Regions from separate parts of the Homo sapiens genome. Here regions 2 and 3 are each linked to region 1. Evidence: promoter capture Hi-C in human tissues and cell types (Jung and others, 2019). All regions are on one chromosome and are shown on one strand. Each heading gives the region's core, a stretch centred on a gene start or on the middle of the fragment in contact. The rest is flanking DNA. Distances are from core to core; before and after follow the strand shown.

Region 1 (3,279 bases), core at 780-3,279:
ACACCTTTCATCTTGCAAGTCTACAGCCCTCACCCAGGGGAGCAGGATGGATTCTTAGATCAGAGGATGTGCCCTCTAGGGAAGGGAACCTGAGACATATGACAAGAGGAGCTATCCTGGGACAGCCCTGACCTCACCCTTGCCTTGGGCTGGCCCACAAGTCTTGCACACACCACACCAGACCAGGAAGTGCACACACGGCCTGCTTTGAGGAAAGGCAGATCCCGAGTCCGGGGAGGTCGTCTGTGCTGGGGAAACCGGGCTGAGGATGCTGCTTGCCCATCGCCACTGAAGGCACCCAGTTCACACAGCCCTATCTGGTGTTGGGGCCCGACTCACTGACTATGACTCATTGACAGCCTGAACTGTGGGCCAACTGACAAGCAGGGCTCACTCCGCAAACACGCGCTGGGCTCTCCAGCTGTGCCGCCCCCCACAGGGCCTGCAGCCCGGGACAACACCGGCCATGTGAATGGTGGGTACCCATTGGATATGGGCGGGTCAGCACAGGTATGTGGGGTGCAGCCATTGCTTGGGGACCCACGGTGATGCTCTGTGCTCCCTCTTCCCACAGTAACTGCATTAAAGTGTTTCATCTGAGCTTTGTCATCATCTCTGGGGGCACTGCTGACCTGAGTCTGGGGAGGCAGGCGTCTTGATCCAGGTCTGGTTACAGAGGGGCACCCCACATTCATTGTCAATGAATGAATGAATGAAGGCTCTGTATGGTATCTGCAAGTGAACAGAGCCTGTGGGGAGACAGAAGGTGGGCACAGGCCTGCCCCTGTCTTTACAGCACCCTAGCACCCAGGCCTTCAGCAGGGCAGGTGAGGTTCCCACGCTAGGGCCCTCATCCCATCCACCCTAGAGTGAGAGACCCTCCCGGCCTCAGACTCAGCCACCCACTCCACACCCAGGGCAGGGGTTGGGGATGTGTCTAGGAGGTCTAAGTATCGGTGAAAACCACATCCTACTTCCCCGTCCTCCCACGCCTGTAAGACTTAGGAGACATAACACCTTCCGCCCCCATTCTTGCAACTTTCAGGAACCGGACCCCTGGGTGACTCCAAATTTGAGGTCTGGGGTCAGCAGAGGGTGTGCTCAGTGGGCCACCGCCCCGAGGTGGCCCCTAGTGCTGTGGGAAAAGGCTTATTCTAAGCCCGCGCCTTCCAGCGGACAGGCGCCGTGGTCGCCGGGCTTTGCAGGGCCTCGAGCGGCGGGGCTGGTGCAGAAGCGCGCGGCAGTCCGGGGAAACCCGTCGGACTCCTCAGCCCGCACGGCACCTGCCCCGGCCAAGCAGGCTCCGCCCATTTCCTGCCTGCACTCCCGGAGGGAGTTCCGTCCGTCCCGCGGTCTGTCGGTCCGGTCCCTCCCGCCCCAACGTCAGGATTCCAGAAGGAAATGGGGCGGGGGCACCGAGGCGGGATGTGACCTCGGCCCCCTTTCGGCCCCACTGCAAAAGCGGGGGAGGGTTTTCCCCGTGCGCAGGAAAAGGTGACCCGAGCGTAGTGCCAGCCTGGACACAGGCGCCCCGGCTTGACACCCCCTCACCCCAAGCCAAGGGCGCGCTGACCCCCAAGGCCTGAGGCTGGCTGCCCCCTAAAGCAGGACAAAGGCTACGGGACCCCGTTGAGCCGAGACATCCGCCGAATACCCCCAGCCACCGCCGCTCGAAGCCCGCCGGGTCCCGCCCCGCCCCCGTGCCTCTGGGTCCCTGAGACCCCCGCCCGAGAAATCCCCGCTCCCCAATCCAGCCCCGCTCACCGTCCACATCCCGGCGCTCCCCGAAGCCCGCGCGCACGGCCCCGGCGCGGCCACGCGGGGGGCTCAGCTTGGACCTCAGCTCGGTGAACATGGGGCCCGCGGGTGCCAGGCCCGCGCACACGCCCCTCGCCGAGTGCAGGGCGGCCGGTGTGGCCGGCGGGGAACGCGCGCCGCCGCCCCGCCCCGCCCCAGCCGGCCCCGCGCCCGAGCCGGTCCCCGCGGCCCGCGAGTGTGCGCGACGAGGCACCTGCCGCCGAGCCCTGTGTGCCGGGCGCGCTCCGGGAGCTCCGAGGTGTGTCGGCGGCGCGCGGGCCTGCGTGCACCAAGGCTGTCCGCCAGGGCGAGGGGCGTCCGTGCGCCCCTGGGCACGGCTCCGCGGAGGAGAGTCCCCGTGAACCTGCCGGGCGTCCTCTGAGGTCGGGCCCCTCTGTGCGTGGGGGTGGGCTGAGGGGCATCTCACAGGGGTCTTCTACCTACCGGGGCCAGGACAAGGGGCAGGTCAACGCCTCCCACACACTTTCCTCGGTCTCCTACGTCTTTACTCGCCTTCAAATAGGCACCCGCTTCCCCGGAGAAACCAGCTTGACTCTTGCTTACCGCCCACCCCACTGTGAACATCAGGGTGGTTCTCCCTTCCCTCTGCAGCCCCAGAACCTGGCTCAGTGCCCGGGGGAGAGGGGGCGGTACAGTGCTCTGTAACTGAAAGGGGCTTGGCTTGCCTGGAGATGGGGCAGAGGGGAACTCCAAGGAGGCTGTAGCAGGCCGGAGCGGTGTGTTTGCTCCAGGACTCCAGTGAGAAGTGCTGAGATGGGGCTGGGCTAGGGAACTGTGGTTGCCTGGTGCAGCAGCAGGCCAGGCTTGCAACCAGCTATTCGGCTTGCTCTGCCCAGGAGCCTGGGTGCTCTCCCTGGGTGTATGTAGGGGCTCTGGAGGATGTCTTACAGCAGGAGGACCAGAGATGCACACAGACATGTAGAAATGCATGCACAGAGTACAGTCATGCACTTGCACCCAAAACACGAGCACACGTGACCTCTGTGCACACACCCCACTAATCACACACACAGAATTCACCCACATGCTTGACAGCCATGTTCATGTACTGACGTGTTCCCGACAGCTCAGCTGCGGTTATTTATTTCGTCAATTAGCTCTCCAGGAGCTAAGGATGTGGCCCTCACCAGAATGTCCAAGGCATGTTGGCGGGCGTGGGTGGGGTCTCTAGTCCCACTGGAGGGACAGATGCCTGAATGGGGGTTCAAGAATATGAGTGCTAAAAGCGTAGGGCAGCAGTGTGCGCACAGGACGCACACAGACAGGTGTGCCCATAACCAGTACACACAAGCTCTACACAACTGGACAGGGTACAGCTCTGCTCGGACAGGGCGCACCAGGGGCGAGGGCGGGCAGCTGGGCTGGTTCAGAGGGAGGGGGCCATGGGTTCAGAGGGAGGGGACCATGGGTCCCACTCTCACAGACAGGTCTCCGGACTGCATCAGAGCACTCGGGAAGCAG
Region 2 (3,345 bases), core at 565-3,064, 280 kb after region 1:
GGTAATCACCCCAGCACCTAGACCCATTTAGATTAAGTAAACTTACTGAGGCTCCAGAAGAGGGTCTTCAGGACTCAACCTTAGTCATAGATTAAAAGAAGTTAATCACTTATGTCTGTAGATGAATGCACACTTACATGTAGACATACAGCTTAGAAGGTATACGAGCTTTGGAAAACTTTGTAATTTTGAGTTGGTATGGTGATAATTTCCAGGCCTTCTCCTTGTAACCGGTTACAGAAATAAAACCTCTCTTACTCTCCAGCTCATTTGCATCTTGTTATTGGGCCAGGAGAAGTAGTAGCCCGACCCTCAGTTGGGTCCAGGAACAAAGGGAGTGTCTGAAGACAGCAGTGATGTGATCACCTGTTTTAGGAGGACCACTCGCCAGAGCCCAGGGGAATGGTGGGAGGGGTGGGGAGAGGTGAGGGGAGCTGGGACAGGGCAAGGAGGGATGTATGGAGGACGTGTCCCCTGGCAGTAGGAAGAGAGTCAAGGATGACTCCAGGGCTTCTGTAATTTGAAACAGTCACAAATAACCACAAGCTCTCAGGTGGAAGGACACTGAGAGCCCCATGAAGGTCATGAGGTGGTGGGCCACCTCAGGTCCGTGGATCCAGGACCATGGATCAACAAGAGAAGTGAGGTCTCCCTGGGACCACATAACGTGGTGAAGGCACCGGCCTTTGGTTTTCAAACTCTGCTCCTAAGTGGAGCTCCAGGGTCTGGGGAGGAATGCCGAGTTAGGAGGGAGGCGGGAACCGGAGACCCAGGCCCACTCGTCCGCCCCAGCGACGCTGGCACTTGCACATATGAGGCGGCTTGCATGGCTGTGCTTGAAGAAAGGGTTCTGCAGCTACAGCCTATCTGCAAAGCCCCACGCGAAGTTTGGGCAATGGGCTGTGTGAACCCAGAAAATGGGAGACAGGTCTCAGTTAATTTACAAAGTTTATTTTGCCAAGGGTGAGGACGCGCCCGTGACACAGCCTCAGGAAGTCCTGACATGTGCCCAAGGTGGTCGGGGCACAGCTTGGTTTTATACATTTAGGGAGACAGGATACATCCATCGATACATGTAAGAAGCACATCGGTTCGGTCTGGAAAGACGGGACAACTTGAAGCAAAGGCAGGAAGACTCCAAGCGGGGAGGGAGCGTCCAGGCCACAGATAGGTGAGACACCAACGGTTAAATTCTTTTGAGTTTCTCATTTGCCTTTTCAAAGGAGGCAAATCAGATATGTATCTATCTAAGTGAGCAGAGGAGTGACTTTGAATGGAATGGGAAGCAGGCCTGCCCTAAGCAGTTTCCTGCTGGAGTTTTCCTTAGTGATCTTGGGGGCCCAGGATATCTTCCTTTCACAGCTGATTTCACAAAGCCGGCTGGGTAGGAGGGCCCCAGGGCCGGGTGGCCGTCCGCGTGGCAGGGCGGGGGTCCCAGGGCGGCTGTGCTTGGTGCTGGGAGGCCGCCCGAGGGCAGCGCCGGCCCCGAGTCAGCAGCCGCAGGGCACCCTGGAGATGCGGAACGCCCCCAGCCGTGGGTCAGCAAAGGCGTCTCAGGTGACCCTTAGGGAGGGCTTCTGAGGCAGCCCGTGCGGGGTCCGTCCTGGCTGAGCACTGCGCGGACGGCGCGCCCGCGAGACTCGGACCCGGCCTAGGGCTCAGCGAGCTCTCAGCGGGGCGGGCGGACGCAGGCAGCCCAGGGGAGTGGGGCCCGCCCTGCGCCGCCATCACCCCTTTAAGTGCCAGGCCCGCGGCGCATGCGCAGTCAGGCCGTTGTGCGCAGGCGCAGAGGCGGCGGCGGCGGCGGCGGCGGCGGATGTTTACGGCGGCCGAGGTTGGAGCGGCGCTGCTCGGCCGCGGACACACGAGGGACGCGCCCGAGGAGCTGCAGGTGGCAGCCCAGGCGGTCCGAACCCGTCGGCCGGCCGAGCCTGGAGGTAGAGCCGCCGCCGCCGCCGCCGCCCCTCGGTCCGGCCTGCGGCGAGCGGGTGGTGTGTCCCCTCGGCCCCTTCCCTCCTCCTTCCCCACCCCCGGCACCCCTGCGCCCGGAGCTCTCCTCTGGGGGCGTCGCTCCTCCCCACCTCGGGCACCCTCACCTCCCCCCAGCGGCCTCCAGGGCGTCCCGCGTTTCTCTCTCCGAGCGCTCGCGGTTTCCCGTCGGTCTCTCCCGGTGCCCGTTGCTCACTCACACTCTTGGGTCTGGTTAGTCCAGACCTGCAGCTTGTCTTTGACTTCCCAAGTGGGAAACGTTTGCAGTTCCAAGGCAAGCCAAGAGCTAAGGTTTAGAACAAAGTCTGCCTTGGACCCTTTCAGAAGATGACAGGATTTTTTAAAAAAATAATTGCGCCCCCCCGCCCCGTGCCTTGGAGATAGTAAGAATTGGAGCAGAGCACTGGGACTTCAATTCACGCATGGAAAGAGATCTTTGTTAGTTGGAGGAAGGAGAACTTGCCTGAGCTTCGGGCCTTTGTTTTGTTTTTGTGAGAGGGACGTGTCTCCTAAATGAATGTTTGCTCCAGCGTTGCACCTCAAATAAGTCACCTAAATATCCACGCCCTCTTTATCCACCCCCTCTTTACTCGTGTGACTAGAATAGTTTTCATTTTTCTTCTCAAGGGAATGGCTAAACAGCTCCTATCTGGGCGTTTGATAGACTGTCATTCAAGAATGAGTGAAGTTGAGGTGCCTATAAGCAACTCAGAAATTGTTGTGGCCACGCTTGGGGGAAATAGAGCCCTACACTCAGGTGATGAGAGGAGACCTCAGAGGTGACCGATCCAGGGCCTTGCTCCCTGCGCCACCCCAGCTCGTACCTCCAGTGGAACTTGGCTGGGCTTATCAAGAGCTCCTTTCATTCATTGCAACTTCATTTGTTAGAAAGCTTCTCTGTGTATTTAGTAGGCATTGTCTCCAACATGTACCACTGGTCTGGCTTTTGTTAGGCCCATTAATAGTGTACATGTGACAGCCTTTCAAGTATAGGTGCTCCCCGGCTTACGGTGGGGTCGCATCCCAGTAAACACATCGTTAAACCTGAAGTCGAACCATCCGAAGTCGGAGACCATCTGTATTTGAAAAAAGTCCCTTTGCATTGCTTGTAAGAGTTCTGGTTTTCAAGGTGAGAAATCTGTTTGTGTGTTTGTTTGATCATTCTGCCCAAAGGAGATGTGGCTTTGGGTCCTTTTCCCCACTCATCTTCCACAATGAATTACTTTGTCCATATTACCCTAAAGAAGTGACATCCAAGTTGGAATGTGATCTTCCGTATGTCGCCTCCCAAAACCCCACTACCATAGCTTCATGCTTGTGTTGACACAGCCACAATCACAACTCAGGTGTCAGTTC
Region 3 (3,345 bases), core at 416-2,915, 260 kb before region 1:
GAGGCGGGTGAATTGCTTGAGGTCAGGAGTTCGAGACCAGCCTGGCCAACATGGTGAAGCCCCGTCTCTAGTAAAAATACAAAAATTAGCTGGGCGTGGTGGGTGCCTGTAATCTCAGCTACTCGGGAGGCTGAAGCAGGAGAATTGCTTGAGCCTGGGAGGCGGAGGTTGCAGTGAGCTGAGATCGTGCCATTGCACTCCAGCCTGGGCGACAGAGTGAGACTCCATCTCGGGGAAAAAAAAAAAAAAAAAATGCCATCAACAGCACGACCCTGGAGGCTGCCCCAGCCCTGAGAGAGTTCGAGGGGGTGAAACAAAGGCAAGCCCTTCAGGGAGACACTAGAAAGATCCAAATGCATAAGCAGGATTCCTTGAGAAAAGGTCTGTATCATCCCTTCTGACACCAGCAAGCCACATCAGAAATACAGGTTGCCTTCCCCATGGCTACATGTGAGCTGGTAGTAGTGGCTGAGCAGAAATAGCCCAGCTGTCCTCCTGAAATTTAGCAGGGTCTTACTTCATTGAGCAGTCATCTGGTTCGTAGACACCAGAGTTACAGAAAAGTTTATTGGGAGGTTTTGACAGTTTAATAGAAAAAAGTTTATTGTGACAGTTTTGACAGCTGAATAGAAAAAAGTTTATTGTGACAGTTTTGACAGCAGAATAGTTGCTTTGCTGGAGAGACGGATCTTTGGAGCTGCCAACTCCATCATTTTGGTGATATCCAGCTCTGTTGCTGAATTTTTAGCTATGCTGTTTTAAGTTATTTTCTTAGTGGTTGCTCTAGAGATGACAATGTACATCTTTAACTTACCACAATGTACTTCAGATTATTACTAACTTAACACTTAAAGTACAGCATTTTTTTTTTTATGGAGTTTCACTCTGTCACCCAGGCTGGAGTGCAATGGTGTGATCTCGGCTCACTGCAACCTCCGCCTCCCAGGTTCACGCCATTCTCCTGCCTCAGCCTCCTGAGTAGCTGGGACTACAGGCACCCCCACCACACCCGGCTAATTTTGTATTTTTAGTAGAGATGAGGTTTCACCATGTTGGTCAGGCTGGTCTCGAACTGCTGACCTCAGGTGATCCGCCCATCTTGGCCTCCCAAAGTGCTGGGATTACAGGTGTGAGCGACTGCACTGAGCCTAAGTATGGCAACGTGTCTATAACATAGATCTACTTCCGTTGTACTATGACATAGTTCCCCCTCCATTTTCCTATAGCACAGTCCCAACCTCCCTTTTCCTCTGACATAGTTCCATCCTCCCTCCTCCTATGACGTCCTCCCTTCTCCTCTGGCATAGCTCCATCCTCCCTTCTCCTATGACACAGCTCCATCCTCCCTTCTCCTCTGACATAGCTCCATCCTCCCTTCTCCTATGACACAGCTCCATCCTCCCTTCTCCTCTGACATAGCTCCATCCTCCCTTCTCCTGTGTCATAGCTCCATCCTCCCTTCTCCTCTGACACAGCTCCATCCTCCCTTCTCCTCTGGCATAGCTCCATCCTCCCTTCTCCTATGACACAGCTCCATCCTCCCTTCTCCTATGACACAGCTCCATCCTCCCTTCTCCTATGACACAGCTCCATCCTCCCTTCTCCTATGACACAGCTCCATCCTCCCTTCTCCTATGACACAGCTCCATCCTCCCTTCTCCTCTGGCATAGCTCCATCCTCCCTTCTCCTCTGACATAGCTCCATCCTCCCTTCTCCTCTGACATAGCTCCATCCTCCCTTCTCCTCTGACATAGCTCCATCCTCCCTTCTCCTCTGACATAGCTCCATCCTCCCTTCTCCTCTGACATAGCTCCATCCTCCCTTCTCCTCTGACATAGTTCCATCCTCCCTTGTCCTCTGACATAGCTCCATCCTCCCTTCTCCTCTGACATAGCTCCATCCCCTCTTCTCCTTCATGTATTATTGCCATATATACATTTATGTATGTTATAACTTCAGCTCTTCAGCGTTATAATTATTGCTTCAAAAGTATTTTGAAAGAAGTTGCCTGGAGGCAGTGGCTTATGCCTTTAACTCCAGCACTTTTGGGGGCTGAGGTGGGCAGATCGCCTGAGCCAGGGAGTTGGAGACCAGCCTGGGCAACATGACGAAACCCATCTCCACCAAAATTACAAAAAATTAGTCTGGCATGGTGGCACGCGCCTGTAGTCCCAGCTATTTGGGGGAGGATCCCAGCTAAGGTGGGAGGATCACTTGAGCCTGGGAAGTCAAGGCTGCAGTGAGCTGAGATTGTGCCACTGCACTCCAGCCTGGGTGCAGATCTTATCTCAGAAGTAAAGGGACTAGGAATGGTGGCTTTTATCTCTAATCCCAGCACTTTGGGAGGCTGAGGTGAGTGGATCACCGGAGGTCAGGAGTTTAAGACCAGCCTGGCCAACATGGTGAAACCCCGTCTCTACTAAAAATACAAAAAGTAGCCGGGTGTGGTGGTGGGTGTCTGTAATCCCAGCTACTCGGGAGGCTGAGGCAAGAGAATCGCTTGAACCTGGGAAGCGGAGGTTGCAGTGAGCAAGATCGCACCACTGCATTACAGCCTAGATGACAGAGCGAGACTCTGCCTAAAAAAAAAAAAAAAAAGAAAAGAAAAGAAATTAAGATCTGGACACTGTGGTTCATGCCTGTAATCCCAAAGCCTTGGGAGGCCAAGGCAGGAGGATCACTTGAGGCCAGGAGTTCAACACCAGCCTGGGCAACATAGCGAGACTCCATCTCTATTTAAAAAAGAAAGAAATTCAAAGAGAAAAAAAGTATACTTGTTTTTTTGTATCATCCATATTTTACCTTTCTTTTTTTTGCCCCTTTTTCTTTCCTGTGAATTTGAGTTACTGTCTAGTGTCATTTCCTTTTAGTCTGAAGAACTTCATTTAGAATTTTTTTTTTTTTTTTTTGAGACAAAGTCTCACTGTGTTGCCCAGGCTGGAGTGCAATGGTGCAGTCTCAGATCACTGCAACCTCTGCCTCCCTGGTTAGAGTGATTTTCCTGCCTCAGCCTCCCAAGTAGCTGAGACTGCAGGCACCTGCCACCACCCCCAGCCAATTTTTTTGGTATTTTTAGTAGAGACAGGGTTTCACTATGTTGGCCAGGCTGGTCTCGAATTCATGACCTCATGATCTGCCTGTCCTGGCCTCCCAAAATGCTGGGATTACCATGAGCCACCACGCCCAGCCCATTTAGAATTTCTTTTTTTTTTTTTTTTTGAGATGGGGTCTCGCTCTTGTTTCCCAGGCTGGAGTGCAGTGGCACGATCTCGGCTCACTGCGAGCTCCGCCTCCCGGGTTCACGCCATTCTCCTGCCTCAGCCTCCCGAGTAGCTGGGATTACA

The links. Contacts are between HindIII fragments. The study calls those that stand out against the background at their distance.
Region 2: a contact is called between the fragment with the promoter of PCMTD2 here and the fragment with the promoter of SAMD10 in region 1, in 3 of the 25 tissues and cell types used here (dorsolateral prefrontal cortex, heart right ventricle and thymus).
Region 3: a fragment that was not itself captured here is called in contact with the fragment with the promoter of SAMD10 in region 1 in 6 of the 25 tissues and cell types used here (H1 embryonic stem cells, IMR-90 fibroblasts, dorsolateral prefrontal cortex and 3 more).

Annotation. Positions count from the first base shown.
Region 1 is chr20:63,977,613-63,980,891 of GRCh38, forward strand. It overlaps SAMD10 (sterile alpha motif domain containing 10), which reads right to left and starts at 2,030. Exons shown (of 5, transcript NM_080621.5): 1 at 1,765-2,030. The coding sequence starts at 1,855. RefSeq lists enhancers at 1,184-1,478, 1,464-1,979, 2,575-2,634 and a silencer at 1,825-2,144. The HindIII fragment of the contact is 26,934 bases long and covers 1-3,279 here.
Region 2 is chr20:64,253,934-64,257,278 of GRCh38, forward strand. It overlaps PCMTD2 (protein-L-isoaspartate (D-aspartate) O-methyltransferase domain containing 2), which reads left to right and starts at 1,815. Exons shown (of 6, transcript NM_018257.3): 1 at 1,815-1,937. The HindIII fragment of the contact is 11,329 bases long and covers 1-3,345 here.
Region 3 is chr20:63,721,782-63,725,126 of GRCh38, forward strand. All of the region lies in intron 2 of ZGPAT (zinc finger CCCH-type and G-patch domain containing), which reads left to right. Among named protein-coding and RNA genes, the nearest start is that of LIME1, 13 kb to the right of the region's middle. The HindIII fragment of the contact is 9,604 bases long and covers 1-3,345 here.